Linked DNA regions of Homo sapiens: regions 1 and 2 are each linked to region 3. Evidence: promoter capture Hi-C in human tissues and cell types (Jung and others, 2019). All regions are on one chromosome and are shown on one strand. The core of a region is centred on a gene start or on the middle of the fragment in contact, and the rest is flanking DNA. Distances in the headings are between cores, read along the strand shown. Region 1 holds the start of ZNF551 (zinc finger protein 551). Region 2 has its middle 6.8 kb from the start of ZNF671. Region 3 holds the start of ZNF814 (zinc finger protein 814).

What was found. Contacts are between HindIII fragments. The study calls those that stand out against the background at their distance.
Region 1: the fragment with the promoter of ZNF551 here is called in contact with the fragment with the promoter of ZNF814 in region 3 in 1 of the 25 tissues and cell types used here (spleen).
Region 2: a fragment that was not itself captured here is called in contact with the fragment with the promoter of ZNF814 in region 3 in 1 of the 25 tissues and cell types used here (liver).

What each region holds. Positions count from the first base shown.
Region 1 is chr19:57,680,346-57,684,924 of GRCh38, reverse strand. ZNF551 (zinc finger protein 551) reads right to left here and starts at 2,948. Exons shown (of 3, transcript NM_138347.5): 1 at 2,681-2,948. The coding sequence starts at 2,761. RefSeq lists a silencer at 2,508-2,577 and an enhancer at 2,633-3,256. The HindIII fragment of the contact is 9,267 bases long and covers 1-4,579 here.
Region 2 is chr19:57,732,270-57,736,575 of GRCh38, reverse strand. No RefSeq gene overlaps it. Among named protein-coding and RNA genes, the nearest start is that of ZNF671, 6.8 kb to the right of the region's middle. The HindIII fragment of the contact is 4,717 bases long and covers 1-3,924 here.
Region 3 is chr19:57,887,489-57,891,646 of GRCh38, reverse strand. ZNF814 (zinc finger protein 814) reads left to right here and starts at 2,610. Exons shown (of 3, transcript NM_001144989.2): 1 at 2,610-2,880. The coding sequence starts at 2,845. RefSeq lists enhancers at 2,900-2,949, 2,623-3,165, 3,166-3,709, 3,734-4,158. The HindIII fragment of the contact is 24,676 bases long and covers 1-4,158 here.

The DNA of each region.
Region 1 (4,579 bases), core at 1,699-4,198, 210 kb after region 3:
AAGATTGATCTTCCAAGACACAACTAACACGGGCTTACCCTTTACCCCTCTGACTCCCGTTCACCCATATGGCCCTCAGTTTATTCTCTCTCTTCTCATGTACATCACTCTTTGAACCACACCTGTCTCACACAGCTGCATTCCCACAGCCACAACCTCAAAGGTCACACAGCTTTTCCATGATTGGGACAGTTCATTCCATTATGAGTATCTCTCCTAGGACCCCAAATTCATCCCTGCTGCATCTATCCCCTGTTCATCCTCCTCTCCATCTTCTCATTTGAAAGAATGCAACAGGGCCTGGTGACACTAATGCCCCCTCTCTCCTTATGGTCCCATTGGTCATTGTGTTCTCCCACAGCAACAACAGGCAGGTGGGCAAGTATCTAAGCTCTGAGCCTGCCATGCAAGGAACCATACTCTCTTGTAAGGAAACTCTCCTGGAAGACAACAGACCATGGCTCCCAAACACAACCAAGGGTCTTGGTTCATACTTCACCCTTGTGTCCTCAACACCAAGGAGCCACCACTTCACATTCTTGTCTCCATGTGCACAATACTCTACCACACTTCTCTCACAGTGTCACTCCCACAGCCACAGCTTACTTCCTGCCTCATACCATGAGCATCTCCTTGGCCTCCCAACTGGTTACTCAGCATATGGGGCCCAGAGAGTGGCTGGCAAATTCAAATACGGTTCAGTACTATCCCAGATCTCTAACTGCACCTAAAGTTAGGGGCAGCCTCAAGTCATACCATGAAGGCCTTTCTACCTGACTATTCCTTGCTTCAACCTCACCCATCAAGAATCACCTGTGGATCTCAGATAACCAAGGCCTCTTCCACTTCTGGGCTGTGATTGCTGTCCCCCAACCAGTCACAGCCTTCCTCTCTCCAACTACCACTAATTCAAGGTCCAACCCCAGTGGCTCTCTACCCCGGGCCCATCGAGTCCCACAGATGGCCAATTATGCCCCTAAGATAACGTGACAGCCTGACTGAAACTTCCCAGATCCCACCAAGAGTTAATATAAAACCCTGGTCAGTCTGCAGAGAGGTGAATACGCACCAGTCCTAGCATCATCCTGTCTAACTCCTATGCCTCTACATTCATCTCATGTCTACTCACCCCTGAGAAGCCTTGGCCACATGCTAGATCATAATCTCTGTACGACCCTCACCGTGAACACTTCTGTCCAAGACCTGTGTTGCAACACCTCACACAACCAGGGGCTCACACAGGAGACCTGTCCTTGACCTTCCCCTCCCCTTCCTTGACAACTATTATTATCATTGTGAGCAGGCTTCCCCTCTACTAAATGTGATCCACAGCTCCACCCCGGCCCACAGATTGTCCACTACCTTTTGGAAAAGTCTCCATTCTGAATCTCTCCTCACTGTTCCTGACCTACAGTTCCAGCAGCCCATGAACCATTCTCTGAAAGCTCTCATACTCTTAGCAGGTCAAAAATAAAACTTCTGATATCCCAAATGAAAACTACTCCTACTATGTACTTCCCCATCTTAGTTGATGGAGCTTCCACACTTCTAACTGCCAAAATAAAACCTTTCAGTCATCCCTGACTCCACTCTCTTTCTCAAAACTAAAAATTCAGGCAGCCCTACTTAAAAAATGAATCCAGAATCCAACTGCTTCTCGCATCTTCACAGCCACCATTTTGGCCTATCACATTCTATCACATTCACCTGGCCTATCCCAGTAGTCTCCTCCCAGGTCTCCCCACCTCATCCTTCAGTTGGCTTCCCATGCTGCAGCCACAGGGAGCCTAATAAGACCAGAACCAGATCACCTCCCTCTTCCACTCCAAACCTCCCACTGTTACTATTAAGTAACGAATAGACAACTCAACTTCTCAGGGAACCATTCCGGGTCTGACTTCTACTACACTGCTCCCTGTTCTCATGAAAAGAAAATAATTGTAGGTTCCTGAACTATCTTAGCCTCCTCTCCAAACTTAGCATATACTGGTAACTTTGCCTTGGACAACCTTCTACATCTCCTTTCCCCCGGCTGCCAACAGCTTCATATAATCTAACCTGGACTTAAGACTCTGGGCTTTGTATTTGCTCAAAGTCTCAGGGCCCAAGGCTAGACGAGTGGCGAGGCTCAGGTCGCCCAATGACCCTGGTCCAGTTTTGGAGCCAGGTGGCCTGGGCTGGCTGCACTATCTCCGCACCTCAGTTCTCAGTGCTGACTTTACCAGCTGCGTGAGCTTGGACAAGAACTCAGTCTTCCTATGCCTAACTACTATTACCTCTCTTCAGCCTGTTCTTCCCCTGAGCAACTTTTGGATAGCTTTAGGAAATCCTAGCCCAGTGTCCCTATCTGTTCACAAATCTCGAAGGCTGCCAGTGTCCTCAGAATCGTCAAATTCGTCAGGTGCAACTCTGCCTCACTCTATGTTCCTGCAGACCCGAGACGGACCCCAGGCTCCTGAATCCCCCCCAGCTTAGTCGCAGCTCCAAGTTCTGCACGCGCCAGTCAACTGCCCGTCACATTTCCGTACACACTGGGCGTCACAAACGGGTCCAATCCACAAGCGCCTTCTTGTCCAGGGTACTGGGGCCTGGGCTGCAGGGCTGTGAGCAGGCATCCCTCACTGGGCCTTAAGGCTTCTGCTGGGGGAGGTAGGCGAGACCCGGAGGACGCACAACTCACCTGAGCCGAGTCCCTCAGCGCGACTGCCGCCATTGAGCTCCGTGGACTAGGCGGGGAGCGGCGGCCGACCGGGGCGGGCATTCGAACACAACAGTCCCTATCCCGGGCCTGGCGCAGCTCACCCGAGGTGGTGTCGCAGAACCTCTGGCCCACTTTCGCGACTTCTCTGTCCCGTCCCTCAGTCGCGACCTCCACTGCAGAAACTGGCGGGCTGGACAAACAGGACAGAGGCCAAAATGACCGCCACGAGGAGGACGCCGGAAGTTCCGGCCCGTCGCGCTGCGCGTGCGCGGAAGTGTTGCTATCCTGGGCTGTCATTGGCTCAACTCCGCCGCCGTTTTGCGCTCTGCACTCTGGATAATGTAGTTTCCAAAACTCCACGGAGCTCTTCGGAGTGTGTCCACTGCTTTGACCTCTGCGAACTTGTATTCTGAGGTGCTGTGCCCCGTGCAGGGAAATGGCGACTTCGGCCTCTAGGGGAGAAGGAGGTATTTACTCCTTCTTAAAGGGGCTTTTCCCAGATTTCTGGGAAGTGTTTTCCGTAACTGATCACTTAAGTGTTTAGAGACATTATTTCAGACTCCACGAAGCTCAGGGTGCCCCTAGAGGCAAACAAATATTATTTCAGGGGGTTGGGCGCGGTGGCTCACGCCTGTAATCCCAGCACTTTAGAAGGCCGAGGCGGGCGGATCACCTGAGGTCAGAAGTTCGAGACCAGGCTGGCCAACATGGCGGAACCCCATCTCTACTAAAAATACAAAAATTAGTCGGGCGGGCCGGGCGCAGTGGTTCACGCCTGTAATCCCAGCACTTTGGGAGGCCAAGGTGGGTGGATCACGCGATCAGGAGTTCGAGACCAGCCTGGCCAACATGGTGAAACCCTGTCTCTACTAAAAATACAAAAATTAGCCGGGCATGGTGGCGAGCGCCTGTAATCCCAGTACTTGGGAGGCTGAGGCAGGAGAATCGTTTGAACCTGGGAGGCAGAGGTTGCAGTGAGTCGAGATCACGCCATTGCACTCCAGCCTGGGCGACAGGGGGAGACTCCGTCTCCAAAAAAAAAAAAAGAAAAAAAAAATTTGGATTTTGGAGCATTTTGGATTTTAGATTTTTGGCTCAGGGATATTCAACCTGTATTTTGTTCTCATTAAATAGGTTCCTCTTTCACTTTGTTATTGTTTGATATACTAAAGTTTTAATTTTCATGAAGTCTAATTGGTCTATTTTTCTTTTGTCACATGTGTATTTGGTGTCAAATCCAAGAAATTATGGCCAAATTCAATGTCATAAAACTTTCACCCTATATTTTCTTTTAAGTGTTTTATAGTTTTGGGTCTTATGTTTAGGTTTTTAGTCCATTTTGAGTTCATTTGTGTTTTTGGTGTTAGGTAAGGGTTCACCTTCATTCCTTAGCATGTGAATATTTCATTTTCCCAGCATCATTTGCTGAAAAGATCATCGTTTCCCCATTGAGTGGTCTTGGTAGCCTTGTTGAGATCATTTGACCATATACATTACTATTGCAAATGATATTGTTTTCTTAATTTCCTTTTCAGATTTTTCATTGTTAGTGTATGGAAGGGCATATGAGTTTTACATGTTGACTTTTGCATGTTGACTTTGAATTCAGCTACACAGGTGAATTTGTTTATCAGTTCTTTTTTTTTTTTTTTTTCCCAGACGGAGTCTCACTCTGTTGCCCAGGCTAGAGTGCAATGGCTTGATCTTGGCTCACCACAAGTTCCACCTCCCAGGTTCAAGCAATTCTTCTGCCTCAGCCTCCCAAGTGGCTGGCACTACAGGCGCCAGCACCATGCCCGGCTAATTTCTGTATTTTCAGTAGAGCGAGGGTTTTACCATGTTGGCCAGGCTGGTCTTGAACTCCTGACCTCAGGTGAG
Region 2 (4,306 bases), core at 317-2,816, 150 kb after region 3:
ATACAAAAATTAGCCGGGCATGGTGGTGGGTGCCTGTAATCCCAGCTACTTGGGAGGCTGAGGCAGGAGAATTGCTTGAACCCAGGAGGCAGAGGTTGCAGTGAACAGAGATCCTGCCATTGCACTCCAGCCTGGGTGATAAGAGCAAGACCCCATTTCAAAAAAAACAAACAAAAAACAAACAAACAAAAAAAATCATTTTGTTGAACACATTTGTATTGTTTTCTTTGTTTCAGTTTCATTTATTTCTGCTCTAATCTTTATTATTTTATTTTCCTTTTTTTTTTTTTTTTTTTGAGACAGAGTCTTGTTCTGTTGCCCAGGCTAGAGTGCAGTGGCGTGATCTTGGCTCACTGCAACCTCCACCTCCCGGGTTCAAGCAATTCTCCTGTCTCAGCCTCCTGAGTAGCTGGGACTACAGGTGCCTGCCACTACGTCTGGCTAATTTTTATATTTTTAGTAGAGATGGAATTTCACCTTATTGGTCAGGCTGGTCTCGAACTCCTGACCTCCGGTGATCCACCTGCCTCAGCCTCCCAAAGTGTTGGGACTGCAGGCGTGAGCTACTGCGCCCAGCTATTTATTTTCTTCTACTCACTTTGGGTTTGGTTTGCTCTAGCATCTCTAATTCTTTAAGATGCATTATTAGGTTGTTTATTTAAAGTTTTTTTTTTTACTTTTGTAATGTAGGCACTTATAGCTATAAACATTCTTCTTAGTACTTATTTTTCTGTATCCCACAGATTTTGGCATGCTGTGTTTCTATTATCATTTGTTTCAAAAAACTTTTCTTTTCTTTTTTTTTTTTTTGAGACAGAGTCTTGCTCCATCATCCAGGCTGGAGTGCAGCGGCGCAGTCTCGGCTCACTGCCACCTCCACCTTCTTGGGTTCAAGCAATTCCTCAGCCTCATGAGTAGCTAGGACTACAGGCGCCCGCCACCATGCCCGACTAATTTTTGTATTTTTAGTAGAGACATGGTTTCACCTTGTTGATCAGGCTGGTCTCGAACTCCTGACCTCAGGTGATCCACCTGCCTTGGCCTCCCAAAGTGCTGGGATTACAGGCATGAGCCAATGCGCCTGGCCTCAAAAAACTTTTCAATTTCTTTCTTTTTTTTTTTTCTCTTTGAGATGGAGTCTCACTCTGTCTCCCAAGCTGGAGTGCAATGGCGCAATCTCCACTCACTGCAACCTCCACCTCCTGGGTTTAAGCAATTCTCCTGCCTCAGCCTCCTGAGTAGCTGGGATTACAGGTGTGTGCCACCATGCCCGGCTAATTTTTGTATTTTTAGTAGAGACAGGGTTTCATCATGTCGGTCAGGCTGGTCTTGAACTCCTGACCTCGTGATCCGCCTGGCTCCACCTCCCAAAGTGCTGGGATTACAGTCGTGAGCCATCATGCCCAGCCCAACTTCTCAATTTCTTAATTGACCCACTGGTCATTCAGAAGACGACTGTTTAATTTCCATGTGTTTGTAGCATTTTGAAAGTCCACTTGTTACTGATTTCTACTTTTATTGCCTTGTGGTCAGAGAAGGTACTTGATATTATTTCAATTTAAAAAAGTTTCAAGACATATTTTATGGCCTAACATATAGTATTTCTTTGAGAATGATCCATGTGCTGAGAAGAATAGGTATTCTGAAGCTGTTGGATGAAATGTTCTATAAATATCTATTAGGTCCATTTGTTCTATAGTGCAGATTAAGTCCATTTCTGTCTGGAAGGCCTGTTCAATGCTGAAAGTGGGGTGTTGTCATCTTCAGCTATCACTGTGTCAGACTCTATCTGTCTCTTTAGCTCTAATAATATTTACTTTTATATCTGGGTGCTCCAGTGTTGAGTGTATATATATTTACAAAGATTATGTCCTCTTGCTGAATTGATCCCTTTAGCATTATATATAATGACTTTGTCTCTTTTCACAGTTTTTCTCTTGAAATCTATTTTTCTGATATACATGTAGTTATTCCTGCTATTTCGTCGTTTCCAGTGGCATGAAATATCTTTTTCCATCCTTTTATTTTAATCTATGTGTGTCTTTATAGGTGAAGGGTGTTTCTTGTATGCAATAGAGCATTGGGTCTTTATTTTTATTCATTCAGCAACTCTGTGTGTTTTGATTGGAGACTTTAGTCCATTTATATTCAATGTTTTATTAATAAGTAAGGATTTACTGCTGCCATGTTGTTTGGTGGTCTTCTCTTCCTTCTTTCCTTCCTTCCTGTCTTCCTTATTGTGAAGGTGATTTTCTCTGGTTGTATATTTTAATTTCTTTTTAAAAAATTTTTTGGTATCTGTTGTAGGTTTTTGAATTTAGTTTACCATGAAGCTTCCATGGTAAACTATATCTTATAACCCATTATTTTAAACTGATGACAACACTGATCCCATAAACAAATAACAAACAAGAGAAAAACTAATAAAAACATTACACTTTAACTATGTCACCCAGCTTTTAAATTTTTTGTTTCTATGTATATCTTATTGTACTGTCTATGTCTTGAAAACTTGTTGGAATTGTTTTTGATAGGTTCATATTTTAGTCTTTCTACTCAAGATATGAGTTTACACATCACAGTTACATTGCTACTATATTGTTTTTTTTTTCTGTGTAGTTACTATTACCAGTGAGTTTCGTGCCTTCAGATGATTTCTTGTTGCTCATTAACATCCTTTTAGATTGCAGAACTCCCTTTAACATTTCTTGTAAGACAAGTCTGGTGTTGACAAAAATCTTTCAGCTTTTGTTCATCCAGAAGAGTTTTTATTTCTCTTTCATGTTTGAAGGATACTTTCAGCAAATACACTATTCTAGGATAAAAGTTTTTTCCTTCAGCACTTTAAATCCATCATGCCACTCTCTCCTGGCCTATAAGGTTTATACTGGGAAGTCTTCTACCAGGCATATTGGAGCTCCTTTGTGTGTTGTTTCTGTTCTTTTGCTGCTTTTAGGATCCTTTCTTTACCCTTGACCTTTGGTAATTTGATTACTAAATGTCTTGAGGTAGTCTTCTTTGGGTTAAATCTGCTTGGTATTCTACGGCCTTCTTGTACTTGAATATTGATATCTTTCTCTTGGAAAGATAATCCTTCCTAATATCTTTGGGAAATTCTCGATATTATCCCTTTGAATAGACTTTTTTAAAATTATTATTATACTTTAAGTTTTAGGGTACATGGGCACAACGTGCAGGTTTGTTACATATGTATACATGTGCCATGTTGGTGTGCTGCACCCAGTAACTCATCATTTAGCATTAGTTATATCACCTAATGCTATCCCTCCCCCATCCCCCCACCCCACAACAAGCCCCAGTGTGTGATGTTCCCCTTCCTGTGTCCATGTGTTCTCATTGTTCAATTCCCACCTATGAGTGAGAACATGCAGTGTTTGGTTTTTTGTCCTTGTGATAGTTTGCTGAGAATGATGGTTTCCAGCTTCATCCATGTCCCTACAAAGGACATGAACTCATCATTTTTTATGGCTGCATAGTATTCCATGGTGTATATGTGCCACATTTTCTTAATCCAGTCTATCATTGTTGGACATTTGGGTTGGTTCCAAGTTTTTGCTATTGTGAATAGTGCCACAATAAACATACACGTGCATGTGTCTTTATAGCAGCATGATTTATAATCCTTTGGGTATATACCCAGTAATGGGATGGCTGGGTCAAATGGTATTTCTAGTTCTAGATCCCTGAGGAATCGCCACACCAACTTCCACAATGGTTGAACTAGTTTACAGTCCCACCAACAATGTAAAAGTGTTCCTATTTCTCCACATCCTCTCCAGCACCTGTTGTTTCCTGATTTTTTAATGATCGCCATTCTAACTGGTGTCAGATGGTATCTCATTGTGGTTTTGTTTTGCATTTCTCTGATGGCCAGTGATGATGAGCATTTTTTCATGTGTTTTTCGACTGCATAAATATCTTCTTTTGAGAAGTGTCTGCTCATATCCTTTGCCCACTTTTTGATGGGGTTGTTTTTTTTCTTATAAATTTGTTTGAGTTCATTGTAGATTCTGGATATTAGCCCTTTGTCAGATAAGTAGGTTGTAAAAATTTTCTCCCATTCTGTAGGTTGCCTGTTCACTCTGATGGTGGTTTCTTTTGCTGTGCAGAAGTGCTTTAGCTTAATTAGATCCCATTTGTCAATTTTGGCTTTTGTTGCCATTGCTTTTGGTGTTTTAGACATGAAGTCCTTGCCCATGCCTATGTCCTGAATGGTATTACCTAGGTTTTCTTCTAGGGTTTTTATGGTTTTAGGTCTAACATTTAAGTCTTTAATCCATCTTGA
Region 3 (4,158 bases), core at 1,361-3,860:
ATCTCCTGATCTCATGATCCTCCCACCTTGGTCTCCCAAAGTGCTGGGATTCCAGGGGTGAGCCACCATGCCTGGCATGGCTGCCCATTTTTATGGTTATTTCTTGATTTTTTTTTTTTTTTGAGGCGGAGTCTCACTCTGTCACCCAGGCTGGAGTGCAGTGGTGCAATCTCGGCTCACTGCAAGCTCCACCTCCCGGGTTCACGCCGTTCCCCTACCTCAGCCTCCCAAGTAGCTGGGACTACAGGCACCCGCCACCACGCCCAGCTAATTTTTTGTATTTTTAGTAGAGACAGGATTTCACCGTGTTAGCCAGGATGGTCTCGATCTCCTGACCTTGTGATCCACCCACCTCAGCCTCCCAAAGTGCTGGGATTACAGGCGTGAGCCACCGCGCCTGGCCCCTATTTCTTGATTATATCCTAAACAAAGGGTGGATTATTCATGCCTCCTTTTTTTAGACCATATAGGATAACTTCCTGATGTTGCCATGGCATTTGTAAACTGTCATGGCACTGATGGGAGTGTTGCAGTGAGGACGACCAGAGGTCACTCTCATGGCCATCTTGGTTTTGGTGGGTTTTAGCCGGCTTCTTTACTGCAAACTGTTTTATCAGCAACGTCTTTATGGCCTGTATCTTGTGCTGACCTCCTATCTCATCCTGTGACTTAGAATGTCTTCACTGTCTGGGAATGCAGCTCAGCCTCATTTTATCCAACCCCTATTCAAGACGGAGTTGCTCTGTTAAACACTTCTGACAGCTGTGGTTTCTTCCCACAAAGAGGTTGCAGATGGGGTTAGGTTCTTGTTCTGCCAGCTTGGCTCCTTCCCAATTCCTGTTAACTTACTGATTTATTAGGGCCCCATAGATTAGAAATTATCATTTAGGAGTCATGCAGCCAGGGGCCACAAGACTGTAAACATCCCCAGTTGTTCCTAGGGATGGTATCACCATTGCAAAAGCTAAGATTGGTGCTGGAGATATTTTTCAGACCCTGAACTTGATGGATCTGATGGCACCACTCAGATGGGTAAACTGGCTTATCTGGTCTTGTGCCTCCCTCTCCCCCAGAACCCACTCAGCACAAGAGAACAACTTTGACTCCCTATGATTTCATCTCCAACCCAACCAATCAGCATTCCCCAATTCATGGCCCCCTATCTACCAAATTATCCTTAAAAAACCCCAGTCTCAGGAGGCGGAGGTTGCAGTGAGCTGAGATCGTGACATTGCACTTCAGCCTGGGCAACAGGAGCAAAATTCTGTCTCAGAAAACAAACAAACAAATAAACAACAACAACAACAAAAAACCCCAGTCTCGCAATTTTCAGGGAGACTGATTTGAGTAATACTAGTAAGACTCCAGTATGCTGTTCATCCAACTCTGTGTGAATAAAACTCTTTTTCTTTTGCAATTTCCCTGTCCTGATAAATTGGCTTTATCTGGGCAGTAGGAAAAATGAACCCTCTGGGTGTTTACACGTTCATTTTAACAATACAATAATGGTTATTAATCTTTGCATTAATCTTTGCTTCCAGTGGAAGAATTTTGCATCTGAAGGACCATCTGAAATGATAGGTGAATTTGGATCTGTAGCCTTTGGGAACATCTACACTAACTCTGAAATAATATTTTTCCATACACTAGGGTAATCAGTTACAGCCAATAACCCCAAGAAATCTCAATGTGAGTTCTAAGGAGAGGCAGGATGATCCTCTGCCTAGGAGAAAGATCTGCAATCTTTTATTTATTTTTTTATTTTTATTTTTATTTTTTTTTCCAACATGGAGTCTTGCTGTGTCACCCAGGCTGGAGTGCAGTGGCAGGATCTCACTCACCGCAACCTCTGACTCCCATGTACAAGAGATTCTCCTGCCTCGGCCTCCCCAGTAGCTGGGATTACAGGCGCATGTCACCATGTGGGTTAATTTTTGTATTTTTAGTAGAGGCGGGGTTTCACCATGTTGGCCAGGCCAGTCTTGAACTCCTGACCTCAGGTGTTCCACCTGCCTCGGCCTCCCAAAGTGCTGGGATTACGGGCGTGAGCCGCCCGCACCTGGCCCTTATTTTTATTTTTTAGATAAGAGGTCTCGTTCTGTTGCCCAGGCTGGAATGCAGTGGTACGATCTCGGCTTACAGCAGCTTCGAACTCCTGAGCTCAAGCGATTCTCCCTCCTCAGGCTCCCTAACCCTAACCCCAACCTTAGGGCAGCTGGGACCACAGGCCCGCCCGACCACACTCCGCTAATATTTTTTATTTTTTGTAGAGACAGGATTTTGCTTTGTTGCTCAGGCTAATTTCTAACTCCTGACCTCAAATGATCCTTGTGACTTGGCCTCCCAAACTGGTGGAATTACAGGCGGGAGCCACCATACCAGTCAGGACGCACATCTTAAGGATACTCCCGAGGTGAAGCTGGGCTTTTCCTGCAGAAGCGCCTCTGGGAATTGCGCCCTTTACCCTCCTTGTTGCCTAGGGAACTACATTACCCAGAAAACTCAGCCTCGAATGATAGCGTAGAAGACCTCTGAGGGCTCAGAATAAAGGCGTTTCCTGTGTGCACGTGACAATGGGTCCGGACTTCCGGCGCCCTCTGGTGGCGGCCATTTTGATTGGTGTTGGATTTATTTGTAGGAGAGGCTCCTGAGCGCTAGGTCCGCACTGTGGTGACTGAACCCAGAAGTCGGGGAGCAGTTGTCCTCCGCTGCACAGAGGCTACTCTGGAGCTCTGTGACGGCGCCCAGCGTGACCCACTCCTGGGCCAGGATACGGACCGTCGTGCCCATATCTCCTGGCTGGTCGCCCTATCCTCCCGACTCTGCTTAAAACCACGTGGTTCGATGGCTGCCGCGGCTACGCTGAGGCTCTCCGCTCAGGTAATTGTGGGGCCTTCTGTGTCCTCAGGTCACCTCATCGTCACCCAAAAGCAGCGAGGTAGCAGCGCCTGTTCACGGCTCTGCAGCCCGGACGCCGGCGTTGGGACACTGAGGCGCTTGCGGGAGGGGCCCCATTTCTGACACCCGTGGGATGCGGTGGGGAGACCGGCAGGTACAGGGACTGGCGCGGGCAAAGGCCTGGAAGTGAACTGAGCCAGAAGGATGGAATCTGGGGTCCACAGGTGCCTGTTGGGAGCAAATTATGAGGCGGAGCTCCTCCTGGAAGAGCAAGCAGGCTGGGGGCTATGAACTCACGTGAGGACCCTAGAAGGCATGGAGATTTTCGAAGAAAGGAGGGATGTCATGAGCATTGTAAGGGTAGAGATAATCAGGTCCATGCATGTTTGTGTCTTTGCACAGTGTCAGGTGATATTTGAGTCAACAAAAGCCATGAGCTAAATGGAGTTCGAAGGAGGCAATTCTCTTGTGATTCCAGTTCACTTGGTAGTTGGCCATGGGCACAGAGGCTGAAGACACTCCCCAAGTCAGTCAATATAGCAAACAATACACAATAGTATACTTAACATGTAAATGTTAAAGGTTAAACATAACACTGTTGTACCCGGGCGAGTTAGAAAAACGCCACACTTTGAGACGAATTAAGAGTCCTTTATTCAGCTGGCGGCCAAAGAGACGGCTAACGCTCAAAATTCTCTCGGCCCCGAGGAAGGGGCTTGATTAACTTTTATACTTTGGTTTAGGAAGGGGAGGGGAGCTTAAATGCAACAACTCTTCAGAAGTAAAAACATGCAAAAAATTAAAAGGATAAATGGTTACAGAGAAACAAACAATTTAAAAGACAAATGGTTACAAAAAGGCAAGGTACCAGGTGTGGCGCTCTAAATCCTTCATAAGAGTTAGATATGGGCACTACGCCAGACACAAACTCAAGGCTTTATGGTGTTATCTTTTGAGCAAAATCCTGGGAACTTCATACATGGTTTGTTCCCAGTCCCTTATCAGTTAATTGGACTCCTTTGATATGTTGAGAATCTGCTTACACAAGTTAACTCCTTGAGGAAAGGGGGGTGGGTAAGGAGTCCTTAATGTCTTGTAAATCAAGGGGGCCAGGTGGAGCTCGTCTGGCTTTCTCAGCTAAGCGAGAGTCTATTCATGTGGAAACGAGGCTAGGTGATTAAGAGAGCAAAAGGGAGAGTCTAAAAACAGGATTAGTGAAAACAAGGTTGGGCATTACAACACAAGGAACAAAATAATGCT